3 separate regions of the Homo sapiens genome follow, and all the other regions are linked to region 1. Evidence: promoter capture Hi-C in 16 types of primary human blood cells and fetal thymus (Javierre and others, 2016). All regions are on one chromosome and are shown on one strand. The core of a region is centred on a gene start or on the middle of the fragment in contact, and the rest is flanking DNA. Distances in the headings are between cores, read along the strand shown. Region 1 holds the start of C14orf93 (chromosome 14 open reading frame 93). Region 2 overlaps DAD1 (defender against cell death 1). Region 3 holds the start of PABPN1 (poly(A) binding protein nuclear 1).

Region 1 (4,665 bases), core at 598-3,097:
GGCTCACGCCTGTAATCCCAGCACTTTGGGAGGCTGAGGCTGGTGGATCACGAGGTCAAGAGATCCAGACCATCCTGACTAACACGGTGAAACCCCGTCTCTACTAAAAATACAAAAAATTAGCCAGACTTGGTGGCGGGCGCCTGTAGTCCCAGCTACTCGGGAGGCTGGGGCAGGAGAATGGCGTGAACCTGGGAGGTGGAGCTTGCAGTGAGCCGAGATCGGGCCACTGCACTCCAGCCTGGGCGACAGAGCGAGACTCCAGCTCAAAAATAAATATAAATAAATAAATGATTTTTTTGGTCAGTGTTTACTAAATATCTACAATTATGCCAGCTACTGCAGTAAGAATCAAACAGTTCCTGGATGGAAAAACAATTTTAAGATATGATCACTGACCTCAAACAGTTTACTGGAGTGAAATTACTAAAATATGTGAATCAAGGTAGAGTTACGTGCCGCTAACTGGAGTACACATGAAATTCATGTTGATGGGAGCGGAGAGAAGGAAGTAAGCAGTCTGTGCTGAAAGAGAATGGATAAAAATTGACCAGTCAGGGAAGGGGAGACGCATAATTCAGGCCAAAAAAAAAAAAAAAAGCCACTTGAGTAAAGGAATAATACAAGATTGATAAGACGAGCGTAGAGGGAACTAAGAACAAATATGTGCCCAGGCGCGGTGGCTCACGCCTGTAATCCCAGCACTTTGGGAGGCCAAGGCGGGAGGATAACTTGAGGTCAAGAGCTCAAAACCAGCCTGGCCAACATGGTGAAACCCCGTCACTACTTAAAAAAAAAAAATAGCCGGGCGTGGTGGCATATATCCGTAATCCCAGCTACTCGGGAGGCTGAGGCAGGAGAATCGCTTGAGCCTCGGAGGTGGGGGTTGCAGTGAGCCGAGATCACATCACTGAAAAAAAAAAAAAAAAGGCAGGGTGGGCACATCACCTCAAGTCAGGAGTTCAGGACCAGCCTGGCCAACATGGCGAAACCCTGTCTCTACCAAAAACAAAAAAAATTAGCTGGGTGCAGTGGCGCACGCCTGTAGTCCCAGCTTCTTGGGAGGCTGAGGCAGGAGAATCGCTTGGGCGGGGTGGGGGTGGGGGTGGGGGTGGGGGCGGAGGGGCGGAGTTTACAGTGAGCGAAGATCATACCACTGCACTCCAGCCTGGGTGACAGAGCGAGACTCTGTCTAAATAAATAAATAAATAACAAATAGGTGGGTGGGACCAGATTATGGGTGGCTTAAAATCCAGGTATACCAGCTGTCTTCCTGGAAATAAAGAGGAGCCACTTTAGTTTTGAGAATGTGGTCTGAGCCAGGTAGATAAACTGGGAGCTCGGGCTGAAGTGTAAGACTTCAGAAAGATGTTCCATACGTGAATGTTCATTTAAACGTGGGGGTGTTAAGCAACACACGTGACCCAGAGACATTTCACCTGGAAACCGGAGTAGGGCCCACGCACCAAGTCCCTGATGTTTAATTGCAGTCTAGAATGTTACTGACTAGTTCACTCAATTTAACAAAGTGTCCGGAGGTCGCTCACTGGATTGTTATGCTGGTGACTGGGCCTTGTTTCACTGAGAAAAAAAGATGGGAAAGGGTGACAGGACGGTGAGAAAGTGAAAGGGAGAGAGGTGGGAAAGGGGTCTGCCAAGGTCCAGGCGAGGTTGGGGGTCGGGGGTCCGGCGGCCCTCAGGGCCCCCCCCGCCCCCAACTCCGGGGTTGGCGCCTCGGGCGCGGCGCGTGTGCTTGCGGGCGGGGCGCCCCGCGGCCGCGGACGGCCAATCCGGGAGGGCGTCCGGGGAGGGGCGGGGCTTGCCGGCTCGGGCTCCGCGAGTCCTCCTTTTTGCACACACACGAATACAAAGAGCCATACGACCTTCGGGTATCCTTTTTCCATTTTTTTTCCTCCTTAATCTTGTGTGTGTTTTCAAATTTTTTAAAAATAGAGATCTGTAGCAGTGTTGGGGTGAGGAAACTGTTGCTAAGGGGAATTTGCTCTTTCCCCCATTTCTTTTTCTGTCTCTCTTCCTCTTTCTTTTTCCTGGTCAAGGTTTTAAATATACCAAGAAGTTGAGAAGCAGGATGGCCGTGTACAACCGTTTCCGGCCAAATTTATAGTTTTTTTTTCTTTTTTTTAAATCACATTTTAAGAACTGGTAGATTTTTGTGGTTGAGGGACTTTAAAAATTTAGCCGCTTGGGAAGTACAGAATTTTTTAAGCGGGCTGAAGGGATAATGTAAATTTCTGCCACAGGCAACATCGAAGGAAGCAGAGAGATTTGAGGCTCCCTCATAAAGCCGTTTGCGTGCTTTTTACACACCCACCCCCCCAGAACCAAAACCAAGTGGCTGGGATGTGGCACTTGTCCAAGGCCAATAAGTTAATATTGGGATATTATAATGGAGACATTCATTTCCCTAGGGAAGGGGGAAAGACCTTAATTACAGTGTGTCTTTCACACACATTTTCATTAGAACATTTGTGTGTGTGTGTGTGTGTTTCTTGAAACAAATTTGTAAAGTTATAACTTGGGGTTATTTGTGTATATGTACAATATGTGTGTATATGTGCCATATCAGATTTTATTTTCAAAAGTGATAAATATATCTGGTTTTATGTGTGCAAAGTATCCCCTAGGATGTGAATTTTTTTCCGTTGTCTTCCCAAATGTGATCAAAATATTTTGTGTGCAAAGCAGAGCTTAGAAGAAATCCTATGCTTAGCATACTTAGGCACTTTCTATGTGCATTTACTATATTTTTCTGCTCCTAAAGGATCAGAATAATGAATAATTAAATAATTGCCAAGGAGTATATAGTCCATGTGGCAAATGAGAGTAGGCAATTTATTGAATCTGTGGTTCAAAGCCTTCAGTGACTGTTTTGCCTAAGTGGTTTTGCTTTTTATTGTCTCACGTTCTTAAGTGTACAGCTGTGTATATTTTGGCCTTTATGTGTGGTTTGGTTGGTGTGTTCAGAAGGGAAGTTCTTTCTTGGCTTTTTGACAAAATGGTCGTTTATTGGTTGGAATATTCGAAAAGCTCCACAGCTGGCAAAGTATCAGGAAAAAAATCCAGTCAAGTGTAATTCTCAAAAACTGTTCATGGTGATGGTGATGGGGAGCCAAGAGGATGCAAAGGCAAATAATAGAAGGGATAAGAAATGCCTTTTGGTTATCATGTTGCATTTTTAGAATGGAAAGCTTCTCATTTCTAAGAGTCACAGAAAAAAGTATATGAATTAGAGAAAAACAGGCTCGCAGAGCAGAACCTCCTGTTATAGGAGCCCTATTTTCACTTCATTCTGTTACAGAATCACTATCTCCTCATTAGAAGTTGTATGGAAAATATCTGTATCCAAATTTGTATTCGCAGATTGGAGTGAAAGCATAGGAGGTATATGAGGTGCTGAGGGAGAAACTGGAATGTCACAAATGCAGTGACAACCAGGAGACAAAAAAAAAAATCTACTGTAGAATTTAAATTTCATTACAACAAAACTTCTGTATAATAATGCATTTCTATTACACAGCTAGCATCCTACTCTATTTCAAGCAGTATTTGACTCCTAAATACTGACTGCAATAAAGTTACTTGTACAAATTTATAACAAAAGTGGCCCTGTTTGGGCTTTCTGGGTTTCTTACTTGTGCTGAGTGTATTTTTATTCTCTAACAATTCAAGTCAGACCAGTGCTTAATAAATACTGGCTCGACTGTGGATTATTCCACAATTTCAGACCTGCATTTCTTTGAAATCTAGTCACATTTTAGTGATCTTTGTGATCACAACAGTGATGGGAGTTTTTTTTTTTTTTTTTTTTTTTTTTGAAACGGAGTTTCGCTCTTGTTGCCCAGGCTGCAGTGGCAATGGTGCGATCTTGGCTCACTGCAACCTTCGCCTCCTGGGTTCAAGCGATTCTCCTGTCTCGGCCTCCCGAGTAGCTGGGATTACAGGCATGTGCCACCATGCCGGGCTGATTTTTGTATTTTTAGTAGAGACGGGGTTTCACCATGTTGGTCAGGCTGGTCTCCAACTCCTGACTTTAGGTGATCCGCCCGCCTCTGCCTCTCAAAGTGCTGGGATTACAGGCGTGAGCCACCGCGCCCGGCCAGTTACGGGAATTTTTAATGGAGTTTTACCCTTTTTAGCTCTTTTCCACATCACTACAGGTCATCACATATACTTTTTACCTTACTTTTTAGCGTCTCAAAAAATAGGGAGAGCTCTCCCTGAACAGTGCAGAGCCCGTATCCCTGATTTCCTAGGCTATTTGATTTCTACATCCAGGAACGTAGGGTCATATCCACTGTTCTTGCTTTTTCTTCCTAAGAAAGGAGAGAATTCCTCGCACATATATATCGTTGGCTTGGCCTTCCAAAGCAAAGCAAAACTAAACTCTGTTGATTTTGCCTGGGAATCCTCGGGGCCCCTAGTATTGGAAACTTCTTTGAACTGTGAGGAGCTGCTAATTTGCAGGTGACATGTGAAAGAAATGTAACCGAGGCCAGCAGTAACTAAAAGTCGGCCACCACCCAACGTGTGACGCCGATTTGTGGCCACTGTGCTTATAATCGTGTACACACAGGTTTGTGAGCAGCAGAGAACAAAAGCAAGTAAACAAAAACAAGCTAAAGATGGCGTCTGACGGCCTTGAAA
Region 2 (4,665 bases), core at 1,053-3,552, 450 kb after region 1:
AAATTTGATGGAATGAATAGGTGAGTTTGAATAGGTCTGTTTGGTTTTGTTTGGCACTGTGAACACCTTTTGCTTCCTGTTATTGCTCTTTCTTTTATACATTTCTTATAATACCACTGATTCAGGAATGTTCTGCAATTATGTAGCATTTCTGTAAATACCAGTGTTAGTGAAATAAAAGCATTCTGGCTGAAAGTCCAAAATCTCTCCTTTAAGTTCTGATGCCAGAATCTCCAGGTTACTTACTTGACCCAATATACCAAATAAGGTAGTGCCCTTTTTCCTCCTGGGGCAGCCCGGTTCTTCTGAAAGGTAGTATTTCCCAGCCTCTTTTGAGTCATGGTACACGTAGGAGATTGCAGTATTTTTATGGCACACTGGGAAAATCAGTTGCTTATAGCTGGAGACATTGGAGCCCCTAAGGCTGGAGGTCACTTTCCAACCAGAGCTGTGCTGGAGTCCAGTAGGTGGGAGGCTGTGCTTTGAGGGACTAAAGGAAGCCTGTATCTTGTGGTGAGGGTTCCACCTCACAAGTTACAGATCTCAGTTCCATTTGGCTCTAGCAGCAATGTGGCCACTTCTGTTGCGGTTACTCTTTCTTCACCTTTTTCTTGCCAAAAATAAACTTATCTTTAAATGAAAACTAAATTATTTCTTATATTTTGGTCCTTTGTTATAGCTGAGATTGGGAATTTTTCTTTCTTTCTTGAATCCTTACTTCCCTACCCTGCCTCCCCACCAATGGAAATCTGTGCTTCATAAGCATTTTAGATTCCAGAAAGCTCTTTAGGTTAAACTACAACCCTCTCACCTCAAAGAATTTGTGGGCCAGGGAAGTCAGTGACTTATGTGAAGTCTTGCGGCTAATTAATGGTAGAGCTGGAGTTAGGACACATGTCTCACAGTTCCTAGTTCGTTTTGCTTTGATGTGCTTGAAATTCAGTTTTGACATTAATTTTTCTGGATACTACTCCCATAAAATGTTCTTTGAAAAATACTTGCTTCTTTCTAGTTTTTCTCGCCTGGTTTAAATATTGTCCTGAGTGTGGGAACCCCATAACTGTCTTGTGGGTTAGAATTTAGATGGAAGGATTTGGGGCCCTGTCTCTAGTATCATAAGACATTTAACCTTGCTGCTTTTTTCTTCTAGGTTCACTCTTTGAATTTCCTGGATAAGAGTTCTGGAGATGGCAGCTTATTGGACACATGGATTTTCTTCAGATTTGCACTTACTGCTAGCTCTGCTTTTTATGCAGGAGAAAAGCCCAGAGTTCACTGTGTGTCAGAACAACTTTCTAACAAACATTTATTAATCCAGCCTCTGCCTTTCATTAAATGTAACCTTTTGCCTTCCAAATTAAAGAACTCCATGCCACTCCTCCATATGCCTCTGGCTCTGTTTTTATTCTTTGCTGGTATCAGAATCCTTTTTTTCTCTTCAGTCCTCTGTGCTGAACTCTTTATGAGTTGGTAACTTACAGCTGTGAACCTGCCTCCTTGTTTTCATTAAGTATATTTGAAGTTAATGGCAAAAGGCAGTGCTGACAACCCTGGGAAATGGCAGTCCTTTGTCTTCTTCCTGGAGCAGGTAATCCTTTACTAATCCTTCGATTGTTACAGGTGCTTCCACTCTTATGACAGTGCATTCCTGGAACTGCATCATTATGCACTCTGCTAGAAATTGAACTAAGTATGTGCTACCACATTTACATCTGTTTCAACATGTTTTAGTGGTAAAAGTGAAATATATTTCTCTTAGGCAATGTAGACAGAGTGAAAAATGGGGGTTATGTATGTGTTGACTTATAAGATACAATATTTTCCAAAGCACCTTCACAAATATTCTCTCATTTTATTCTTGCAATTATCTTAGGGGTTCCTGTCCTCATTAGTTAGGTGAAGAAATTGAAACTCAGATTTGTGACTTGCTTAAGATCAGAGTTCATGACAAAGCTTGGATGGAATGTAGGTCTGCTGGCTGAAGTCTGTCATGTTCGCAGCCCTGTTTTCATCTTGGGTGCTGTTGGGTTGCTATATATGGGGCGGAAGCTATGTTGAGAATGCCACTACTTAAATTTAGCCAACTACCGAGAATGATGAGTTTCAAGCTTCTCCAACTTGGCTGCACGTTAGCATGACTTGGGTAATGTAAAAAGAAAATCCCAACGTCCAGGCCACAACCCACACCAATTAAGTAAAAATCTCTTGGGGTGGCTTCTGTAGTTTGTAAAGCTACCCAGGTGATTCCAGAGCACAGCAAATTGGAGAAACACTGCTCTGGATTCTTGCTACTCAAAATGTAGTCATTGACTACCAGTATTGGCATCGCCTGGGAGCACAGGCCTCACCCCAAACCTACAGAAGCAACATCTTCATTTTAACAAGGTCCTCCGGTGATTTATGTGCACAATAAGATTTGAGAATCTCTCATCTACAGCAGTGGTTCTCAAAGTTTGGCATGTCTCAAGATTACCTAGGAACTTGGTGAAAAGCTTGGGCCTGTATGTTTCTTATTAGCTCTCTGCCTAACTGGTAACACACTGAGTCAGGAGTCCGCAAGCTTTTCCTTAAACAAATGGGCATGGCTATATTCCACTATCACTTTATTTATAAAAATTGGTTGTGGCTATGTGGGTCATGGTTTGCCATTCTTAAGTGATACTAGTTCATTGAGATTATAACTGAGCAGTTTAATCTGCACTTTTTTTTTTCTTTTTTGTTTTTGTGAGATGGAGTTTTGCTCTCGTTACCCAGGCTGGAGTGCAATGGTGTGATCTCGGCTCACTGCAACCTCCGCCTCCTGGGTTCAAGCAATTCTCCCACCCCAGCCTCCCGAGTAGCTGGGATTATAGGTGCACACCAACATGCCCGGCTAATTTTTGTATTTTTAGTAGAGACAGGGTTTCTCCATGTTGGTCAGGCTGGTCTCAAACTCCTGACCTCAGGTGATCTGCCCGCCTCAGCCTCCCAAAGTGCTGGGATTATAGGCGTGAGCCACTGTGCCTGGCCTAATCTGTTCTAAAACTTATATACAGATGTCACAGACCCTATCAGGAGGCTTCTGGATAATTTTTAGTCTAGAGAAATTGGAATTTTGAATAAGAAAAGCATCTGGACTTTGAGACACGGGTTGAAAACTGGGAATAATAGTAATTTTATGAAGGAAGACATTGTAATTGCAGTCTTTAATACATAGGTTTTGTTTAATTTTTCATAATGATCTTGAGATACATGGGACAGGTATTAAATTCCCATTTACCAGGTCAGCTATTGTCTCAGAGGTTGTGATTTACCCAAGCCAGTTACCATCAACAGGAAACATTCTTCTTTGGTGTGTCTTTTCAATATTTGCTTCGGGGCTAAAACCTACAGACTGCTTTTGGAGTGTTGGGATTAGATTTAGTTAAAGGCTCATTATAGGTAACTCTTGTTTTTATGCTTCTGTTGATTTGCTTTATGGTTCTCAATTTGACATGTACTGAAGAATTAGCTGTGGACCTGTGAGTAGCCGCTGCACTCCAGCCTGGGCAACAATGTAAGACCCTGTTCTTAAAAGAGGCCAGGCATGGTGGTTCATGCCTGTAAATCCCAGCACTTTGGGAGGCCGAGGTGGGTGGATCACCTGAGGTCAGGAGACCAGCCTGACCAATATGATGAAACCCTGTCTCTACTAAAAATACAAAAATTAGCCAGGCGTGGTGGCATGAGCCTGTAATCCCAGCTACTCAGGAGTCTGAGACAGGAGAATTGCTAGAACCTGGTAGGCGGAGGTTGCAGTGAGCCGAGATTGTGCCATTGCACTCCACCCTGGGCAACAGAAGCGAAACTTCATCACAAAAAGAAAAAAAAAAAAGACAACACTGAAAAAGCGCCAGGTGCTCAGTGGCTTACACCTGTAATCCCAGAACTTTGGGAGGCCAAGGTGGAAGAATGGCTTGAACCCAGGAGTTCAAGACCAGCCTGGGCAACACAGTGAGTCCCTGTCTCTACAAAAATTAAAAAAATTAGCTGGGCGTGGCAGTGCACCTCTGTAGTCCCAGCTACTCGGGAGGCTGAGTTTGGAGAGTCACTTGATCCCAGGAGGTAGAGACTGCATGATTGCACCACTGCGCTTCAGTCTGGGCAACAGAACAAGACCCTGTCTTGAACTTAAAGACACACCCCCAAGCCCCATTGCGTTTCTGATTCTTAGGTGTTTTTTCAGCTGAAGTATGTTGAAGGAGTTGATTTTGAGTACTACTGCATGGAGAGTGAGGTAGACCCTAGCATTTCCTGCTCCCCCTTGCTCAACACCTCTATGGGGTGGTTTATTTTTATTTTCTGTGCTCTTTTATGGGGCCGGAAGCCATTCACCACAAACACTGTGGAAAGTCTATTCCCTGCCATTCTTTGCAGTGGTGGGAAGCCCAGCCCTGAGCACCTCCTGCCCACACATTTCCTGGCCCCTATCACATGGAAACCATCTCTCTTGTTTTCTTCTCTTAGCAGCCTATACCTTCGGCCTCTTGTGATCACATCATTTCATCTTGGGCTTCAAAACACTTTTGTTGTGATGGCTAGAAAATACTTGGGGAGGTCACAGAGGCGTGCTCCCTGGTGTTGGAGGTTATAGAGGCCAGGGAGCTTGTTTGCAAACTTAGCGGGAGACTCTGCTGCTCTCCTATC
Region 3 (4,665 bases), core at 991-3,490, 310 kb before region 1:
TCGTAATCCCACCCACATCTAGCCTTCATTTTTGTTATCTGGCCTCTGAAGACATTTAGGTGCAACTCCTGATATATCAACATTAATGCCATGATCTTAAATGACACAGATCACCTGTGTTAACACCAAATAACTTACTGCTCAATATAAAACATAATTTATCTATTTGTACACTGTAATTTAAATTATCTCAACTTACTCCCCTTTACTTACCCTTTGGGATGGCCACTAAATTTGTCACACAGTATGGTAACACGGTTGACTGAACCACAGCCATGAAAGTGAGCTTCCAGCTCTTCTGCTGTTGCACCATAGTCCACCTGATGAGAGGAGAAAAATTTCACAGGCACCAGGCAAATTCCTGTCTCAAAAGGAACCCTCCCGAGCCTTTGGTCTGGGCCATCATACACCAAAGCACATGAAATCTGGTAATTTGAGGAATTAATCTCTTTTCCTTCCAAACCCAGAGCCTTTGCTGATTACTGATCATTCCATTACCTTTAACCTCCTTCCCACACTCCCTCCACACCCAAAACCACATCTATCCCGGAGATGTTCCTTTCAGGACTATTAAATAATTCCCCAAAAGAAGAACTTGCCCCCAACCCCAGTCAGAGCCCCAGTACGTACATTGCCAACATAGATGGAACGGGCATCAGCCTCCATCTTCTCCTCAATGGACATGATCACCGGGCCAGCTATCAGGAAAAAATAATTTTTTACAAAAACCACACACTTGTTTTCTACTTGACCAATATGTTGCACTTCCACCACCAGCACTATCCCATAAGCTCAGTGAAGGCAAAGATTTTGGTCTGTGCTGTTCCCTGCTGTACCCACAACCGAGAATAGTGCCTAGTGCATAGCAGGTACTCACTAAATATTCAATAAATTGAAAGAATTAATACACACTTAAAACAGTATAGGAATCCCTCCTGCCTCCAAATCAAATCCCTAATGAATGGCTTTGGTTGAAATGCTTTTAAGAGTGAGCAAAATTAAGTGGGCTGAGACTCCACATTTCTAGATTAAAGGGGAAACCCCTTGCAGCTTGCTTTCTCTTAGAATCCTAAAGCGTCTCCAATTGGAGGAAAAACTATTAGATTTGAAGGTCAAATGCGAGCACGCAACCTCTACAAAGAAAGATAGACGTAGACTAAGAACAAAGAGCAACACAATTATAACAGGCACAAAGGGAGGCACAAGGCTACCACCACCAAAATATACGTTCTGCCTCACAAAGGTCAGAGGAACACACAACGGACTATGACCGCGGCACAGTCATAATAGCTCAGACAAGCAGCTCCAGGGTGCCGAGTATCTAACCCCACATTCCCCATCCTCCCCACAACCCTTCCAACCCGAGAACCCGGGCTCCGCGTGCAACCGCCAGTTACTCACCATTGCCTGGAGGTGGACTCATATTCATCTGCTTCTCTACCTCGTTCTGTAGCTCCTTTAGCTTCTCAGCTTCTTCCTCCATCTCCCTGACTCGAGCTTTGATAGCTTCCAGCTCCTAATATAAGTGGGGAGGGTATGGAGGACAGCTTAAGAGGAACCAACGCAGGGGCTGTGCCCTGCTCTCGGCCAGAGCGCGGCCTCAGCCATGCTCGGCCATTTCCCTCGCCCCATGCGAGGGTCGTGATAAAAGAAAAGCTACCCTCTCTAGAACAACACTAGGCAACCGTGACGCCCGAATCAAGCCAGTCGGGCCCCTTGTAGTGATCGCTGACCCATCCCCGGCCCGACCCGGCCCCAGCCACGTTATTCCCCGCCCAACCCCACCCCCCGCCTGCCACCCGCTCGCCCGAGCTCTGGGCCTCCAGTGACCCGGCCGGCCAGCCGCCGGCCTGCTCGCTCGCCCTCCTTCCCTCACCGGGTCCTCAATGGCGCCGTCCCCCGGGTCACCCTCGACCAGTCCCGGCTCCTCCTCCTCCTCTTGGCTGCCGGGGGCTCCCGAACCAGGCCCAGGGCCCGGAGCTCCCGGGGGGGCGCGGGGCCGGGGCGGCTCCTCTTCGGGCTCGGGCTCCGGCTCGGGCTCCAGCAGCAGCTCCTCAGGCTCCAGTTCCTCAGACTCCAGGCCGTTCCCGTAGTCCCCTGCGCCCCCCGGGGCCCCCTCCCCGGCCTCCCCACCGGCCCCGGGCACAAGATGGCGCCGCCGCCCCGGCCCGGAGCCCCGACCGCCCGCAGCCCCCGCTGCTGCTGCCGCCGCCGCCGCCGCCGCCATCGCCGCTCAGACTGGGGCCCGCCGCCCGGCGATTGGAGAGCTGCGCCGGCCACGCCGAGGACTCATTAGTCAAGCTGCCTGCCCGTCACCATGAGCTAGTACTCCATTGGGGAATATTACTTGGCAATCAAATAAGGCCCCACCTCTAAGGCGGGGCACTGCGCCAAATTCTCAAATCCCGGTAGGGGAAATCTGCCTGTCAATCAACACGCGTCCCACCTCCTATCGAGTCCTTAGGTAATAATACCGCCACGCTGTGACGATATTCCTGCTTCTCCCCGGCCTACGGGCGGGCCCGCGAAGTATGGGACGCTCCGTGATTGGCCCTAGCTAGGCGACTGGAAAGGACCAATCTTCCGATCGCCTCACCGCAGTGGCCCAGTCTCAGATGCCGATTGGCTTGCGAGAGTCGAAGGGGTGACACTCGTTTCGTGACAGGTGAACCTTGCCCCCGAAAGGACTGCCGGGCTTCAAACTTGGGAAACCCGAGGTCACATGACTAGCCAGTCCTAGGGGGCCGCCATCTTGATACTACTGCTTGCCAGCTAGTGAGCTGTTGGCCGGGTGAGGCCCAAAACAGAGCAGCAGTTTCAGGAAACTTGTATCTCGACCAGGAAGCACCAGTAGATGGGATGTTGCTGAAAATGGAGGTTGTGAATGAAGCATTCCAGGAGGGAGCTTACTTTCCCCATCCAGGTTATTGGCACCATCATCCACTAGCTCTCCCGCACCAGAAAGCAGGGAGGATTCCTCAGTCCAGAGCTACTAGTCACAAGTCCTGTCTGTCCCGCCCTCTTGCGTAGGCCTTCTGCTCCCCAGTTCCATTTTCTTTTTCCTGGACAGCTTCCAATGTCACCCCTCCAATCTGCACCGCTAACAGACTGGCCCCCCTTTGCTGGCGAGGTAAAGTCTCAAAACCGTAAATCACGGCCTTCGATACGCCAGCATGTGGTTACTTTGTGGATGTTGTTTCCTTCCACTCTTCTCGTTCCTTTGGGTGTACCTGCACCCAGTCTGTGCCTCTAACATGTAGTCCCCCTTCAATCAAACCACTGCAAACCCCAGCTTCCCCTCATTTCCCAGGACAAGTGGGCCTATCTCCACGGCGCGCTTAATTGTTTTACTGTTTCCTAACTAGGTTGTGAGCGCCTGCAGATGAGGGGCCGGTTCCTATTTATATTCGCATCTCCACGGCCTGGCAATATGCCTACCACATAATGTCCTGTTAGATGTTTGTTGATTGAACAGGCATTGATTGGGGATTTGGGTGCCACCCTTCATTTAAGCCCTCAAGCCCCCAAGATCCCAGAGGAATTTCTCCTGGCAGGTTCCCACTACACCCCTGCACCCCAAGTACCAATGAGACCTAGCCCTGGAAGGCAGGACTGCCATATTTTGGTAGCAGTCCTACACATTTATTAAAAAGAAAGGAATGGCAGTGTACGTTTGCAAGAGAAATTTTTGTGGGCACACTAACCTACAGTTCGAAAGATACATATAGCCCAACCAAAAAGTTAAACAAACATGGTTGGCCGAGGGATTTGGACAAGAGAAGATCCTCATTAGCAAACCAAAAAATCAAGTGACTCATTATACCCCACTATTCCCCTCACCCCCACTTTTTCTCACAATTCCTTACCTCAAGATCTGGGGAACTTGCAGCAGAGTCACAGTCGCTTAAAATTTCACTGCAAATTACTTCATCAGCCATCTCAGCTTCAGTGATCTGGGATAACTAAAGTTGAGCACCGAAGACAAGCTCTAAATGATTGAATACCCTGGAAGAAAGGTCTTTTATACTAATCTTAACCTAATCAAGATTTGTTAATCTTATTGGTACCCAATTTAATCAAGCCAACAAAAGGAAATGTGATTTTTAAAAATGGCTTTGAATCCTATTTTTGTTGAGCGTTTGATTTTGTAATAAGCACCACTCCTTATTATTTCACTGGACTCTCACAACAACCCCACGGGGAAAGTATTTCCAAAACCATAACCTTTTTTAGGGAAAAAGAAAAAGGCTTAATGAAATGAAGAAACTTGCCTAAGTCATTGGACTAATTAGAAGTGTGCAGGGCTGGCTGGGCGTGGTGGCTCACACCTGTTATCCCAGCTCTTTGGGAGGCTGTGGCGGGAGGATCACCTGAGCCCAGGAGTTTCAGACCAGCCTGGCCAACATGGCGAAACCCCATCTCTACTAAAAATACAAAAATTAGCTGGGCATGGTGGTACATGCCTGTAAACCCAGCTGCTCGGGAGGCTGAGGCAGGAGAATCGCCTGGGCAACAGCAAGACTCTGTCTCAAAGGAAAAAATAAAAATTATATATATATTATACATAATATATATTATGTAATATATATAATAATGTGCAGGGAATTCAAAGCCAGCTTTCAAAGCTCAGATCACTACTACTATAAGGCCTGCTTTAATACATAA

What was found. The method cuts DNA at HindIII sites, captures the fragments that hold promoters and counts their contacts. A CHiCAGO score of 5 or more calls a contact.
Region 2: a contact is called between a fragment that was not itself captured here and the fragment with the promoter of C14orf93 in region 1, in 4 of 17 cell types (naive CD4 T cells, erythroblasts, total B cells and 1 more). The highest score is 7.6, in naive CD4 T cells.
Region 3: a contact is called between the fragment with the promoter of PABPN1 here and the fragment with the promoter of C14orf93 in region 1, in 1 of 17 cell types (neutrophils). The highest score is 5.3, in neutrophils.

The regions. Positions count from the first base shown.
Region 1 is chr14:23,007,325-23,011,989 of GRCh38, reverse strand. C14orf93 (chromosome 14 open reading frame 93) reads left to right here and starts at 1,847. Exons shown (of 7, transcript NM_021944.4): 1 at 1,847-1,889. LOC124903286 (a long non-coding RNA gene) reads right to left here. Exons shown (of 2, transcript XR_007064075.1): 2 at 3,006-4,665. RefSeq lists a silencer at 1,509-1,858 and an enhancer at 3,486-4,046. The HindIII fragment of the contact is 8,647 bases long and covers 1-3,211 here.
Region 2 is chr14:22,561,623-22,566,287 of GRCh38, reverse strand. It overlaps DAD1 (defender against cell death 1), which reads left to right. Exons shown (of 3, transcript NM_001344.4): 3 at 1,151-1,381. Among named protein-coding and RNA genes, the nearest start is that of LINC02332, 6.9 kb to the right of the region's middle. RefSeq lists an enhancer at 4,298-4,377. The HindIII fragment of the contact is 384 bases long and covers 2,111-2,494 here.
Region 3 is chr14:23,319,032-23,323,696 of GRCh38, reverse strand. It overlaps PABPN1 (poly(A) binding protein nuclear 1), which reads right to left and starts at 2,240. Exons shown (of 7, transcript NM_004643.4): 1 at 1,877-2,240; 2 at 1,402-1,516; 3 at 631-698; 4 at 214-320. The coding sequence starts at 2,227. It overlaps BCL2L2-PABPN1 (BCL2L2-PABPN1 readthrough), which reads right to left. Exons shown (of 8, transcript NM_001387346.1): 4 at 1,402-1,516; 5 at 631-698; 6 at 214-320. RefSeq lists enhancers at 866-1,675, 1,676-2,487, 2,741-2,810, 2,499-3,149 and silencers at 1,781-1,850, 1,911-2,340. The HindIII fragment of the contact is 8,249 bases long and covers 1-4,665 here.